Linked DNA regions of Homo sapiens: region 2 is linked to region 1. The links are contacts of gene promoters, found by promoter capture Hi-C in human tissues and cell types (Jung and others, 2019). All regions are on one chromosome and are shown on one strand. Each heading gives the region's core, a stretch centred on a gene start or on the middle of the fragment in contact. The rest is flanking DNA. Distances are from core to core; before and after follow the strand shown. Region 1 holds the start of TFAP2E (transcription factor AP-2 epsilon). Region 2 overlaps PSMB2 (proteasome 20S subunit beta 2).

Region 1 (2,784 bases), core at 179-2,678:
TAAAAAGGGACCTAAAAAAACAACTAGTCTTCTCTGCCTTCCCCTACTTTTTTATTGGTGTTGTCGAAGTTGCAGAAACTGAGATCACAGAGGAAACGGGATGTAGCTAGGATCACACAGTTAGGCAGAGTCAGGACTAAATCCAAGCCCCTGAGTCTGAGGCAGTAGAGAATAGTGATTCTGAGCAGAGAGGGGCCAGGGGCAGATCACCCCAGCTCTGCCACTTAGCTGCTTGACCTTGGGCAAGCCATTTAACCTCTCCATGCCTCACCCCTCCCCTGAAAATGGGGATGATATGGGTATCTCTTTCATAGAGCTGCTGTGAGGGTTAAAGAACCCAATATTCGTGAAGCACTTTGCACAGAGGCTGGCACATTCTGTAATAAGTCTGCTGTGATTATTTCTACTTTGCCCTGGTCTGCACATCTTGCTTTTAAAAAACATCTTTCTTCTGCTTTCTTAATTCCTGTTCTCCTTAGCATTCCTCTCATTTGTCCATCTTTAATCCCTGTCTCTGCTTGTCAGGAGGGGAGGGTTGGGTTTGGGGAGAAAGAGAGAGTGACTACAGAGACTGGAACTTGCTTGACAGCCAGGGAGTGCCTGCCATGGTAACACAGGAACATGTAGCCTGCGCATGTTAGTGTAACAATCACACGGCATCCATGCTAGTCAGTTACACACAGTCACTCAACAGTCTCTGGGTATCTCATGCCCACACTCAATCAGCCCAGGACCCTGTGGCTTCAGAAATATCTTGGCCCCTTGTCAGGTGGAGCTCATACCCAAACCCATCCCAGGCAAGTCTCTCTCTCTGTCTGGCCAGCTTCTGTCTCCAACTCCCTCAGAGCCTGGCTTGGCTTGGAAGTTTTCAGCCCAGGAAGCCTGAGAGCGAAGTGGGCACCTTCGAGGGATTTTGATCCAGAACCATTCAGGAAAGACTGTGATGGTAGACCCCCTAAACACACGCACTGACACTGTGTGCGCATGAGCAGATAGGCTGGAGTCTTCAGCTCACAAACTTCTTCCACGTTCCCGATTACCCACCTCATCCAAAGTCTCTTGAGGTGCTTAGAGAAAGGATTGATACCTATTTTACCGAGGAAGCTGAGGCCAGCGAAGAATAGTGCTTTGCTTAAAGGCAAGGATGTGATAGAGCCAGGCAAATGTAGGGCCCTTGCGTCCCAGCCTCGAATATTTCTGTTTCACTGCAGCTGCGAGCTGCGAGCCCAGAAGGCGGCTCTGATCAATGTGGGCTGAATTCACGCCCCCTACCCACCCTACCCGATCCCGCCAAAGCCACTGCCTCCCCTGTGGCAGCCGCTGGGGAAAAGGGAGAGAACTGCCATAGCTTGTCTCTTTAATGCGCGCCCCCGGAGGCCCGGCGCGCCCCCGCCACTATAACTGGAGTGCATGGAGCAGGCTACGCTCAGAGGAGGAAGGGCGGGCGCTGGGCACCCGTTGACCGACTTTTCCAAGTGCGATCAGTGCCCGTCCGTCCTGCCTCCATGGACCCGCCCGGGAACGGCCACCGCTGAGGACCCCACGCCCACTAGGATCCCGGCTGGGTCGCACCCAGCTACCGCACCGTGACCTCCGCGGGCTGTGCCGGCTCCCGGCGCCTCTGCCCGCAGCGCTCGCCGTCGGGCTAGGGCTCCGCCGCCGCCACGCCTCGCGCCCGGCACTCACCGCCCCATGCTGGTGCACACCTACTCCGCCATGGTGAGTAGTCTCGGGCCCGGGACATATTCGGCCGGGGGATCGGGGCGCCTGAGTGCTGGACTTTCCAACCCTCCTGTCCCGCGCTAACGAAATCTCGGAGGGAGGGGGCCGCAGGGACTTCGCCAGCTGAGAACGCGATGCGCAAGTGACCGCTGTCCCCAGCCTGAGGCTCCTGCGCCCGCGGGTGGCTCGGAAATAAACCTCGGGCCCCAAGAAACGGGAGGGACTGCAGCTGAACCCTCCCGAGCTGAGGAGGATCCTTTCAGGCTGGGGTCCTTTCAGCTGCCAGTGGGTCACCTAAGGCACCCCTCTCCTTCCCCAGGAGCGCCCCGACGGGCTGGGAGCAGCTGCCGGCGGGGCCCGCCTGTCGTCTCTGCCCCAGGCGGCCTACGGGCCGGCGCCCCCGCTCTGCCACACGCCGGCCGCCACAGCTGCCGCCGAATTCCAGCCGCCCTACTTCCCGCCGCCCTACCCGCAGCCACCGCTGCCCTACGGTCAGGCGCCCGACGCCGCCGCAGCCTTTCCCCACCTGGCAGGGGACCCATATGGCGGCCTGGCGCCCCTGGCGCAGCCGCAGCCTCCTCAGGCCGCCTGGGCCGCGCCCCGCGCAGCCGCCCGCGCCCACGAGGAGCCTCCCGGCCTGCTGGCACCGCCCGCCCGCGCCCTGGGCCTTGACCCGCGCCGTGACTATGCCACTGCCGTGCCCCGGCTCCTGCACGGCCTGGCCGACGGCGCGCACGGCCTGGCAGACGCACCTCTCGGCCTTCCGGGGCTGGCGGCGGCCCCCGGTCTGGAGGACCTGCAGGTGAGACCCGAGGGATCCGGGATGGGTCGGGACTGGCCGCGGTGGTTTACTACCATGGCTGGAGGCAGAAGGTGACAAATGCAGGAAGCCGACTTTTCTCCCAGCTCGCCACATCTCACTGGTGACTCCGAGGATGTGTCCCACCTCCTGGGTTAGACGTTGCCTGGCCATCAAGGCTGCCTGGCACTGAGTCCGCCAGCAGTGCGTGGGTGGCAGCAACCCTCGGCAGGGACCGAATCACTTCTTTTCTCCCCGCTGCC
Region 2 (2,784 bases), core at 177-2,676, 55 kb after region 1:
AACATATCTAAGAGAAATACTTAACATCCTTGTAAGTAAAATGGGGATAACACACATCTTATGGTGTCATAATAAGGATACTTAATAACAGATACATATGTAAGTATTTAGAATAGCACTGTCCAAGAGAACTTCTATGATGATGGATATGTTCCAGATCTGTGATGTCTAATACAATAGTTGTGGCTATTGGGTACCTGAAATGTGGCTGTGACTGAGGAACAGAATTTTTTTTTTTAAGAACAAAAGTTGATTTAGCATTCAGGCAAAGTCTACCAGGAGATTTTCCACCAGAAACTGAATTTTAAGTTTTATTTAATTTTAATTAACTTAAATTTAAATAGCCCCATGTGGCTAGTTGGCTACCATACTGGACTGTGTAGATCTAGAAAAATCCTAGCACATAATATATGTTCAATGTTATTTTACTTCTATTTTCCCTATCAATACCAGCATGGTGGCTTGGCGCCTGTAGTTCCAGCTATTTGGGAGGCTGAAGTGGGAGTATTGTTTGAGCCCGGGAGGTTGAGGCTGCAGTGAGCTGTGACTGTGCCACCTCTTAGGTGACAGAGCGAGACCCTATCTCAAAAAAAAAAAAAAAAAAAAAAAAGCACAACAAATGATCCCTCACGAAAAACTAACTTATAGCCATTAAATTGCTTCTTTGACCAAACAGCAATCGCAGCATAAAAACACAAGTGGGCTGGGCATGGTGGCTCATGCCTGTAATCCTAGCACTTTGGGAAGCAGAAGCGGGAGGATTGCTTGAGCCCAGGAGTTCGGGACCAGCCTGGCAACATGGAGAAACCCCATCTCTACAAAAAATTAGCCAGGCATAGTGGTATGCACCTACAGTCCCAGCTGCCAGGGAGGCTGAGGTGGAAGGATCATCTGGGCCTGAAAGGTCAAGGGGCTGCAGAGAGCTGTGGTCATACCACTGCACTCCAGCCTAGATGACAGAGTGAGATCCTGTCTCAAAAAAAAAGTAAGAGCTTTGCATTATTACCTTATTTAATCTTCATAATAACTTTTTGAAATTGGTAAGTAGGGAAATTAAGCTTAGAATTTGTCCAAAGACATCCAGCTAGTAAGTCAGTAAGCAAATATTCAAACCCAGGTAGTCCAATTCCAGAGACTATGCTCTTAACCACAATGCTAAATTGCCTACATTTTAATGAACCAGTTTATGTAAGATTCATTATATACTCAGTGGTAGTAAATGTCCTCCCAACCAAACCACCACACATACACAGAGCAAATTAGAAATCAAACAATTTGAGCTACAGACACAGAAGTTATACATGGTAACTGGCTGACCCAAAATGAGTCACATCTGCCAACTGGTGTGACCATATAAATATACTAAATTTGGTGACTTTGCACTTATTAGGAACACTGACAAACTATCATCTCTCTTCCCAGAATAAGACGACTAAAATATAAATTCATATTTTAGAACTAAGAATCTATTTTGATAAGGAGATGGGGGAGCAGAGATTGGACCTACTGGAAAAGCTCAGGCAGAGGTAGTCAATATTTACCAGAGCCCCATGTCACTGTCTACAAGGGATATTTGTTAAGACATCAAACATTTCTGCTAGGAGAAGATTAAACCAGATTCACTGCATTTGCATGAAGCACACTGCCATTCTTATCTCAATTCCAAAAAGGAGCTTAATTCACTTAATGTCTGTGATATTTATGACACAGTATTTATTGTGCCCAAAGCTGGAATTCTTACTCCGGTTCTGCCTGATAAGTCAGAGGAACATCGTACATGGCAAGTCATAAAATGCTGAACACCACAGGAACTTCTGGGTGACAGAAAAACTAATATCTGACCCATTTTCCTTTCTCAAGGAGGAGTGAAGAAAAGACCACTTGGTGACAATGACTTTCTTGGAAGAAAAAAAAAAAAAAAAAAATATATATATATATATATATATATATATATATATATTTTTTTTTTTTTTTTTAAAGAAAAGACTACTGATCTTTCACCCAGGACAAAACAATGTATGTAAATTTGCCTCCTCCTCTCAATCCTACATGTCTCTAGCTTCTCTTCAAACTTCATGATCCCTCAGATTGTACAAGCCCTTGGTCAAAGCTAGCACTGAGAGGTACTATTTATTGAGAAATTATCAGTCAAAGATTATTAGGCACTAGAAAATAAACTGCTTTATAGATCTGTAGTAAGTAACTTTAAAAAAAGTAACTTGTTATTTTAAGCAAGTACAGATGAAAACTCAAACCATAATAAAAATATGAATAGCATCAGTGTTCTAGAAACACTACTGAAGAACCAAAGGCAGAATAGTCAAATAATTATGGCACCATTATTTTAGCTTTGTCTGACCTGCTGTGTGACCTGGAGCTAGTCCCTTTGACACTTTATGCCTTTCACTTCATCTCAGTGATAGAGACTATCTTTCTCAGTGGAATAGTGAGTAGATTAAATTATTAAGCAAAATGCTTTGGGCAAAAGTCACATGAATGTTAAATATTATGATTTACAAGCATTCATTTTCCTGGCACCCCTGTGGGGTTAGGAAGTTATCTCCATTTCATAGATAAGTAAACAGGCACAGGGGGTGAGATCACGTGGTAAGGCTCTATTTATTTAGTCCCTGTGGGAAGGGAATAACACACACCTTTAGCAACCATATGAACTTTCCTAGCACATCCTACACAATCTTTAATGCATTCAATCCTTAACTTAGTGTTGCATCTTTTAACATGCTGTCGATGAAATGGAGACAGCTCTAGAATAGCAACAAGGCT

Evidence for each region. Contacts are between HindIII fragments. The study calls those that stand out against the background at their distance.
Region 2: a fragment that was not itself captured here is called in contact with the fragment with the promoter of TFAP2E in region 1 in 6 of the 25 tissues and cell types used here (H1 embryonic stem cells, heart right ventricle, liver and 3 more).

What each region holds. Positions count from the first base shown.
Region 1 is chr1:35,571,886-35,574,669 of GRCh38, forward strand. It overlaps TFAP2E (transcription factor AP-2 epsilon), which reads left to right and starts at 1,429. Exons shown (of 7, transcript NM_178548.4): 1 at 1,429-1,719; 2 at 2,042-2,524. The coding sequence starts at 1,693. It overlaps TFAP2E-AS1 (TFAP2E antisense RNA 1), which reads right to left. Exons shown (of 3, transcript NR_183387.1): 2 at 2,475-2,784. RefSeq lists enhancers at 1,393-1,892, 2,134-2,784. The HindIII fragment of the contact is 7,667 bases long and covers 1-2,784 here.
Region 2 is chr1:35,626,673-35,629,456 of GRCh38, forward strand. The region is part of intron 3 of PSMB2 (proteasome 20S subunit beta 2); the gene reads right to left. Among named protein-coding and RNA genes, the nearest start is that of PSMB2, 13 kb to the right of the region's middle. The HindIII fragment of the contact is 9,137 bases long and covers 1-2,784 here.